Regions from separate parts of the Homo sapiens genome. Here region 2 is linked to region 1. The links are contacts of gene promoters, found by promoter capture Hi-C in blood cells and fetal thymus (Javierre and others, 2016). All regions are on one chromosome and are shown on one strand. Each heading gives the region's core, a stretch centred on a gene start or on the middle of the fragment in contact. The rest is flanking DNA. Distances are from core to core; before and after follow the strand shown.

Evidence for each region. Contacts are between HindIII fragments. The CHiCAGO score rates a contact against its expected background, and 5 or more counts as called.
Region 2: a contact is called between a fragment that was not itself captured here and the fragment with the promoter of NTSR1-AS1 in region 1, in 1 of 17 cell types (monocytes). The highest score is 5.7, in monocytes.

The regions. Positions count from the first base shown.
Region 1 is chr20:62,732,571-62,737,341 of GRCh38, forward strand. It overlaps NTSR1-AS1 (NTSR1 antisense RNA 1), which reads right to left and starts at 2,789. Exons shown (of 2, transcript NR_199009.1): 1 at 2,656-2,789; 2 at 1-612. The region is part of intron 1 of NTSR1 (neurotensin receptor 1); the gene reads left to right. RefSeq lists an enhancer at 2,213-3,058. The HindIII fragment of the contact is 3,056 bases long and covers 790-3,845 here.
Region 2 is chr20:62,636,601-62,641,371 of GRCh38, forward strand. It overlaps LOC124904949 (a long non-coding RNA gene), which reads right to left. Exons shown (of 2, transcript XR_007067711.1): 2 at 1,045-4,746. Among named protein-coding and RNA genes, the nearest start is that of SLCO4A1, 3.5 kb to the right of the region's middle. The HindIII fragment of the contact is 4,159 bases long and covers 867-4,771 here.

The DNA of each region.
Region 1 (4,771 bases), core at 1,539-4,038:
ATCCTGTGGTGTATAATTCTTAGTATGTGATGCTGGATTTGCTGCTGTTTTGTTGAGGGTTTTTGCATCTGTGTTCATGAGACATCCTGGTCTGCGTTTTCCTTTCTTGTAACATCCTCGGTTTTGTTATTGGGGTAATGCCGGCCTCGTAGAGTGAGTTATAAAGTGTTCCTCTGCTTCTATTTCCTGGAAGAGACTGTAGAGAGTATCTATCATCTGTTCCTTAAATGCAAGGTAGAATTCTAAGTCCGTGTCCCTGCGTGGCTCCAGGCACGCTGGTTCCCCATCTGACCCTCCGCTTGCTTTTCCTCGGGCTCTCCCTGCCTGGGCCTGGAGGACCACAGCGGGCACAGGGGGCGGCTCAGGCTGAGAACCAACGGCGCTGACGTCGCCTAAAGGGGGTTCCCAGCTGGCAGCCTCCAGGTGCTGGAATGTTTCTCGGTGAGAAGCCGCCACGGGAGTCTGTGGACTTGTCACATCACCCGCAGGCGTGGCCCTGAGGCCACGTATCCAAGCAGCAGTGCCGTGCATATTCATGTCGGCATTGGACTTGCAAATTCTGAGTGAAGTAAATGTCATCGGCAGTGTGTAGACGTTCTTTCGGAAGAAGATCTGTCAGAGAAAATGCAAGCTGATTACCAGCCTAACAGAGAAATGTGCATCCCGGTCCCCGCAGGGCCACCCTGGAGGCACCTCTGCACCTCCCAGGCACAGCTCTGGGAAGGCTGAAAATTAGCACCAATTAGGGAAGAATGAAGCTCTTGGTTCCCTCCTGAAGCACTTGGTTGAAGCTTGCTGCGCTCCTTTCCGGGAGCAAATGAGCATCTCTCGGGACAGTTGTGTTTCCCTTGGGCAGGGAGCCACTGGCAGCTCCCCAGTGGGAATCGTGCCTTCTAGTCCAGATTTCCACTTTGGAAAGGGAAGGTTCTAGAAAGTTCTGGAAAGCTCGGCTGTGGCTGACTCCTGGCTTAGGGCTCAGGCCTGTCTCACCTAGCAATGCAGGGTGAGCCATGTGGGCTGGCTTCTGGGGATGGGGAGGAGAGATACACACATGGAGAAAAAGAGGGAGATAGAGAAGAGAGAGGGAGAGAGAAAAGGAAAGAGAGGAGAGAGGGAAAGGCAGAGAGAGAAACAGAGGGAGAAACACAAAGAGAGGGAGAGAAGGAGAGAGAGACACAGAGAGAAAGGGAGGAACAGAGGAGAGAGAGGGGAGGAGGGGGAGGGAGACAGCACCCTCTTCTCCCTACCCTTGCCTGGGGTCTCAGCTGAGAGAGGGAAGGCTCTGTGCTGGGGAAGAGGCCTCCAGCAGGGAGTAGTGACTGATGAATGTATGATTGCTACTTTATCTCAATAGAGGATTCGAACAGCCCCCAGGCAGGGTCGCATTTTAAATGATGGTTTTGGGTGCTGAGCCAGCCCAGCTTGGAGGGGGTTTCGTTTCACAGATGAGGAGCCTGAGGCTGGGGGAAGCCACTTGCTCAGATGCACACGGCTGGGGCCGGCGGCAGGTTTGCCCGACCTCGAGTCTGCGCTTCTCATCCTGGAAGCGACCGCCTTGTCCCCTGCGCAGCCTCCTTCTCTGGCTCAGCCACGTGGGTTACTACTGAGTTCACTCTTCAGCCCTGGTGGGGGACGGGCAAGAGATGGGGCGTGAGGGGCGGGCGGAGGCAGCGAGGTCTGGGATGAGAGCTTTTCTGGAGCCTTCTCTGGAGTGTGACCCCCTTCCCCGCAAAAAAAAAAAAAAATCTTGGCTCAGCTCTTGGGCTTCGGTGCAGTAGGGGCTTTGTGGCCGATGCAGAGGAAGCCGAGCTCTGCTCCTGGAAGGACGTGGCCCCTTGTCTTACCCAGGCTTCATTTTGGGGCCATCTTTTTAGGTGGTTGAAAATGAGTAACTCATTCTTGACCTTGTGCAATGCCCACGCCCTGTGTCCGGGGCTGACCTGGAGGCTCTGGGTTCTCTGCTGAGCAGAGCTGGGGCCAAGACCACCCCTGGGGAGCGAGGAGCAGGCGCTGGTGTGCCTGGCCCAGGTGGCTTCCCATAAAAGCTGCAGGCAGCCCTGTCTAATGTGGCAGCCCTGGGCCACACGTGGCCACTGGGCATTGAGACATGGCTGGTCTGAGTGAAGATGAGCTTCAGCCTGAAATCCGCACCGGGTTTTAGAGTTAATGCGGAAAGGCGGTATACAATAGCTCACTAATACCGTTGCAAGTTGATATGATATTTTGAATACATTAAGTTAAATAAGATATCGTATTAAAATTATCATAGCTGTTTCCTTCCACTTTTGTAACATAGCTACTGGTACATTTAAGCCTCACGTGGCCTGCATCCTATTTCCACGGGACTGTGCTGCCCGAGCCCCTCCCTGCTGATGAGAAGCAGCCCTCGGGTGGCTTTGGGGTGTGTCCAGAGCCTGTACAGCCTCCCCTTGGGGTGGGGTGCCGCGTGCGGGGTGCCAGGCACCAGCCGGTGCTGAGGCCCCATGTGGAGGCAGCCCTGCATGATGGGCAGCAACCAGTGGGGTGCCATCGTGTGCGGTGACGTGCACACTAAAGAAAGACGCTCAGCTCCCTCCTCTGCCCCGCCTGGCCGCCAGCTCAGTGCCAAAACCATGGTTAGGGGGTGGGAGGCCACGGGTGCCCTTGGGGACCTACCAGGCCTGCAGGGTCCTTGGCAGAGGGGCAGTGCCTGGCACCAGGAGGACACTGTGCTGGAAGGTCAGCCTGTTCCCACAGCCAGGGATGTGGGGCTCCCAGGTAGCCCCATTCATAGTTATTTGAATTGCTGTGATGGAGGCAGGCGGAAGAGGTGGGACTGCGAGGGAAGGCAGGGGCCCCCCGGGGAGAGAGTGGGTGCCTCCTTCCCTTTCCTCAAAGCCCAACGGCCTTGCAGTGAGACTGCCACTATACAACAAAGAGCCAGCACCGCTGTGCACGCTGGAGTCTCACAGATGAGCCGATTATGTCTTTGTGACAAACACATTATTAGGAGTGAGATGAATTCCTTCTGTGGGCGGGGATGATTCAGAGAGAGGCGTCCCAGCCCCAGGAACAGCCTCCCCGCAAGGTGGCCTCAGCCTCCCCCATGCTCCCCTGGAGGCCGCTCCCTGGCTTGGGGGGTGGGTAACACGGGAGTCCCCCCGACACGGCGAGGTGAGCTCACCTCCTGAGGCTGGCGTGCAGGGAAGTAGGAAAGGGCACACACTGCGACCGGGGACCAGGGACAGGGTCTTCCCCGCTGTGACCTGTGGGGCTGTGCAGGGGGCGGGAGCAGCCCCCATCCCAAAAGGAAATGGGACAGGAGTTGCCAAGAACAGTTCCCCTTACCCTCCAATTCCTCACGGGTTCAGCACTTTCTCTGAGGGGGTCTGGTCTGAATCCCAAATTCAGATTCTGTATTCAACTGTTCCCTTCATTACAAAGAACAAATTTCCGAGCCCAGTAATTCCCGTTTAAATTTGTCAATTTTCATCCCTCGATAGAAATCAGTATGTGGTGATCACAAAAGCCGGGGTATTAGCCCAGTGGACAGTTTGTTCTGAAACTTGTCCCTTCGGGGCAGGGCCTGGGTTAGGAGGCCTGAGATCTGCCTGGAGCCTGGGGTGCCTCGGGCAGGGGCATCGTGGCTGGGGATTCTCTGCACTTGCCCCATGGAGCAGGGCGGGAAGGGAAGCCAGGCTCCTTTCCCTGTCTGGGTCTGGGGCTGCTGCCCTTGGCAGCTGGGGAGACCCTGGGACCCCAGAGGCAGAGCCCCACTCTCTGTACCCTCAGGCGCAATGCCCTGAAAGACAGGCGCCACTTTGTCTTCAGAAAGGCAGGAACCAAACCCCTCTCACAGTTCCAGAAGCTTCCCTGAGTCCCAGTTTAGACGCAGAATCTCCTCTGTGGATCACTCCAACTGGGGAACCAGGAGAGGGGGTTTGGGAGAGGAGGGAAGTGGCTTCCACCTGTGGGTGGGGCAAAGAGAGGGCTCCCAGCTATGCAGGGCGGGCCCAAACCTCCAGCAGAGCCCCTTTCCCAGCGAGGACTCCGAGGACTCCGAGGCCCTGGCCTGTGGCTCCCAGGGAACAACCTGGACCCTCAGCATAGGACCCGCAAGCTGAGACCCTCCTCTGTTTTACTGCTTCATTTTCCATCTGTGACCAGGGCCCAGGCCACATGCACACACCTGGCGTAGGAGTTACTTCGTGATGTGTTTGGCTGTGTCCCCACCCAAAATCTCATGGGAATTGTAATCCCCATAATGCCCCGTGTCAAGGGCAGGACCAGGGGGAGGTGACTGGATCGTGGGGGCGGTTCCCCCAGGCAGTTCTTGTGAGAGTGAATCTCATGAGATCTGATGGTTTTAGAAGCGTCTGGCGTTTGCCCTGCTGTCACTCACACCGTCCTGCTGCCCAGTGAAGAAAGTGCCTGCTTCTCCCTCCACCATGATTGTAGGTCTCCTGAGGCTCCCCCAGCCCTGCAGAACTGTGAGTCAATTCAACCTCTTTCCTTTATAAACTACACAGTCTCGGCAGTTCTTTAGAGCAGTGCGAAAATGGACTCACACACTTGGCCTGGGCCCAGTCTTTCCCGGATGGATGGTGCGATGATCAGCCCCGTGTTCGTGAGGACGGGGCCAACCCAGACCCACCTGGAGTTGTAAAGTTTCATCAGCACTCAGCCCCACCTGCTCATGTACGTACTGCTATGGCTGTGTTGGCCACAGCGGCCACAGTGAGTGGTTCTGCTCAAAAGTTGAGATCCTCCGGCCCACGAAGCCACAGTGACT
Region 2 (4,771 bases), core at 1,696-4,195, 96 kb before region 1:
GGCTCCAGCGCCAGCCAGAGGAGTGGCCGGGGGATGAGAGAGCCCAGGAAGGCACCCCAGGGAGGTGCAGCACGCGCCGCCGACTCAGCCCTGGGCCCCGTACGCAGGAGCCACCCCCTTCCTGCAGATGGAACAAACCATCTGGGGTCAGGAAATTGAGCTGGCTCTTCTAATCTCCTCTAGAGCTCCACGTTCCTGGGGTTTAAGTAGAACATCCAGGCCTCTCAGTGAGCCAGAAAAGCCCATTTCTACCTTGTGATGGGGAAGATGAAAATTCTGTGAGTCTCCTACGTGGGAAAGGGTCCGGCTTGCCTGCAGGATGCTGACTGCGTGGCACCTAAACACAGAAAGTTCTGGAAGATTCCTTGCCCCTGTGTAGGCTTAAATATCGTTCACTAGCTCTGACAGTCCACCCAGGCCCTGGGCAACATGTTCCAGGGCAGAGCAGGTTGGCACAAGATGGACATGGTCATGGTGCCTTCCACGGTCACGGGACCCTGGGGACAGCAGACACCGCCCAAGAAGGAATCTCAGGGACCTGTGGGCATCCCTGTTTTTGTGCCTCTGGGTTCTATCACCTGACTTCCCCCAACAATGAGCTCTGCACATGGCCAGGGATCTCTGCACACGTCCAGGGAGCTCTGCACATGGTCAGCCAGCTCTGCACACGGCCAGGAACTCTGCACACCATCAGGGATCTCTGCACACAGCCAGGAACTCTGCACACGGTCAGCGAGCTCTGCACACAGCCAGGGAGCTCTGCACATTGTCAGGGAACTTTGAAAGGGCTGGGCAGGTCACCTTCCTTTCACCCCCAAGTGAGTGAGGCTGCAATGGGGTGTCCATGTCCTTGGACAAAGCTCCAAAGCTTCTAGCTTCTCTGAAGCTCACAGAGGTGTCAGCTTGGTGGGGAAGGTGCCAAGGCAGGGCCCTGGAGATGGGGACAGGGACTGCCCACTTCCATTTGCCAAAGTCTCAGCAAATGAAACATGAGGGAATGAATGCTCAAAGAGGGCTGCAAACAATCGCCAACAAGGTAAATGATTACATTTAACGCTTTTACTGTAAACACTCTCAATGCAATATAATCTTGCTAGTCATGCTGGGTGGGCCGGGATGAGAGTTAGCAGAAGACCTGATGGGTCTGTGCCTCGGCGGGTCCGGACTGCATGCACAGTTGTATTGGAAGCTAAGATAATCACTCACCTAACACGAGGCCCTTCCAGAATGTGAGGTCTCAGCCAAGTGAACCCTGTGAACACCTCCACCCCCAGACCCGCGGGGAGGCTCAGGAGCCAGGCAGACCGAGGCAGTTCCAGAAGCCCTTGGGCTGGCAGACGTTTGCCTCTTTGTAAGTAAGAGTGTATGCAGAAGACCTCACAAGCAGATCACCAGTGAAATTCAGATGACCCTTCTAGAGAGGCTGTGGGCAGCCAAGGCCCCAGGTGTGGACAGGGCTGCTGCTCTCCAGGTGCTGGGGGCCCCAGCATGTCTCTTCCTACAGCTCCATGTGCCTTTGCCACGGAGCCACCGGCATTCAGTGGCCTCTTCCCCACTTGGCTGCTATGTGTCCCCTGGAACTCAGGGCACTCCAGGTGTCCTCAGGTCATGTCTCAGAGCTCAGGGCCATCTCGCCAGGCAGGGAAGTCCAGATTCCAATTTTTTCTACCCCACACCTAATCTCTAACAGCAGGCTCTGAACACACAGGAATCAGTTGGTGGCTTCTAAAGAGAACATGATACCGTCATGTAGCTGCCTGTCCAGACGCTGAAGCCTGTGCTTTCACCGGACCCTAGTGCTTGTGAATGACGACCTCTGTTCTCCTGGGTCAAAACTTCCTTCACCACCGTCAAGAAGGCCACCCTTTGTCGGCGGGTTAAATGCAGTGTTATTTACATATGGTTTATCTGGGCATCTATAATCCCAGGGCGAGAGCCCACCATCCACCAGCATTTTGGAAGAACGCCTGAGACCTGAGACCTGAGACCTGGTGCAATGGAATCAGATTCCCTGGTAGCTGCTTTTAATGGTGACAGATTCTCTGAAACAGAAAAAGATTGAATTGAGTCTGTCTCCCTGGAGTCGTCCTGCTCTGGGAGATGCAGAGGGAGGGCGGCAGGAGGGAGGACAGTGGGAGGCCTCTGTTGGTCAATTGCTAGGCTGCTGTCACCAGATGGTGGATGGCGTTTGTACAGCACTGGCCAAGGGCCCAGCTCAGCAGGGCCAGAGCCTCAGGTCATGTCGCAGGTGAGCAAAGCAGCGTGGATGGAAGACGAAGATCTTCGTCCCACGGAGGGCTTGCTGTGCGCCCCGCAGGACGCAGATCACCGGGAAGAGCAGGAAGCAGAAGCGCAGGAAAGCCAATGCTGTGACTGAGGCGTGGCCAGCAAGCCAGGCCCTCCAGCCACACCCTGCTCCAAAGGGGCTCCGACAGGATGGACTGATGATTTCCAAGAGAGAACATGCTTTTTATCTTCTATGGAATTTTGCTACCAAAGAGCCTCCCAGCTACCTGTGCCCTTCCCTAACCTGACAATCTTAATTCCCCCATGAAACTCCTCCATCGCGGACATTTGGACAACTCCAGGCTGAGTTTTTCCTAAGGCCACTCTGGCCTTGTGCGTCTCTTCTTTGCTAAGCTGTGTGCCAGCCGCCAGCCCACATCTGGGTTGTACCATGATCCTAACTCCTCACCTGAACACAGCATTTAACAGACTGAAACGTGCCACTCTGGAGCTGGGGACTTCAAGCCACATTTCGCCTGCAGCCCGATCGCCTTCAATCTTTAGCAAAATCCTCTTTCTCATGCAAAACAGTGCAGTCGTAACTTTTAAAATATTTTTTAGAAACTTTCTCTAGAGCCTCCACCACATGGCCACAGCCTGAGACTTTGAAATAATGAAACAATTAAATGATGTTTTCATCATTTCTGAGACTTGCCCATTATCACGAAGCTGAAATGGCCATTTTTTTATAAGTCAAGGAAGGACAGGCAGTTTCAAATGAGTTGGCTAAGACATACGCCAAATTCATAGAAAATAGAAATGAACTATGACTACAGAATGGAAGCAACCACAGAAATATTAGCAGGATTTTAAGTATTATCCCAATCAAGTACTAATAGCTAAGTGAGGTCATTTTTTGGATACCATTCCTGGTCAAAGCTAGGAATGATGTGTGTTCCAGGCTGGACCCTCCAGGCAGAGGCACCGGGATCCCACGCTGTTTCTGGGTTGGCCATTAACCTGCCCCTTGACCTGACAGCGTTTCTCTCTCTTCTCTCTCTACACTTCTCTTCTGATCTTTAGATCGATTTTCCTCCAAGTGACAATGTCCATAAAGAGAGAGGGAGGTGGAAATACAGGCTGTCACATTTCAGCTCTTTGAGGTGCCTCTAAAGATGATGTCAGAGAACAGTAAGTGGCCCACAAATGTGCAGCATCTGTTCCGAGCCTCCTGAAGCCGCCCGGACAGGCAGCAGTACGACCCTGCAAGGCCACAGGGGAGCCAGGGGGTTCTCGCTTTCTTTTTCTTTTAATTATTTCCTCTCAAAAAAGAAAAAAAAAAAAGAAAAGAAAGAAAAAAAGCCCTGCTGGGATAGAACTTATTGAGTTCAGAATGTTCCAGGGCACATAATCAGGCTGCCCTTGTTCCAAGACACTGCTGTGCTCTGTAGCTGACCCCCGAGTCCTCTAGGGCAAGAGTAAGGACACAGTCGGCTCCCGAAAGCTGGTGCAGATGGACCCCACCACGCAGGGCCTGGAGTTGGGCCAGACCTGCAGACCCCCTTGATGGCCTGCGGCAGGACCCTTCACCTGGGTCAAGGCCTCCTGGTGCTCCTAGGGGCCTCTTGAGGAGCCTGGGCACCAGCATTTGCCTTTGAGGACAGGACTGAGGGCCTGCATTTTGCACGAATGTACCTGAAATGTTTGCTCTGGATTTACCTTTCCAATGGTGCCTATGCAGGAATCCCAAAGAATGCCTGGTGGGGTCTGAGGCGGGTCTCAGGCCGGGAGCCCTCCACAGGCAGCAATATTTGGCTAGAATTTAATGCCATTTTGTTTCTTTTTATCTATTTTTATGGTGACCTCTTTGTGGTAATTGACACTGACTTTTTAAAAAATAAACTTACCCTTTTAATCAAATGTGTGAATTGTTTAAAGGAAAAACATTGTGTAAATAATGTTTTCAGGGGGTAGAATCCAGACGTGAGTTTTGGAAACAGAGTCCAGTCCTGCTTCTGACATTTGAATTGCTTCTCCAGCATCATCACCAGAAGATGGGCTACCTGTGCTCACAAGCCTCCTGTAACACGGAGCTCACCACCTCTCAAAGGCACCTTCTGTCAGGTCTGCCTGGAAATGCTGCTCCCGCAGACTCCGCACCTGAGGCCAGGTCTGCAGCGAAGCTCATCCACACCTGAGGCCAGGTCTGCAGCGAAGCTCAGCCCCCTTCCTTCACAGGAGAAATACTTCTGGGTGTGCACCTTCCACTCCTGGCAGGGCCGTGAGCCCCTGTGGCAGTGCCTCACCCTCTGGGAGGGACCCTCTCCATCTGGGAACAATGTGGGTACTTTTTTCTCTTAAAGGGCAGTGTCAGGAATGAAAGCAGATACCCAAAAGCAGTGGGTCTCGTGGCCTCGTGTCTGCTTCCAGAAGTGGAGGGCGGCCTGGGACGGCGGGAGCCCTGAGGACACCACCGGGGGGGTCCCGGGACCTGATACGAGTGGGCAGGAGCCCCAAGCCCTGGAGGAAGGAAAACCATTTCATA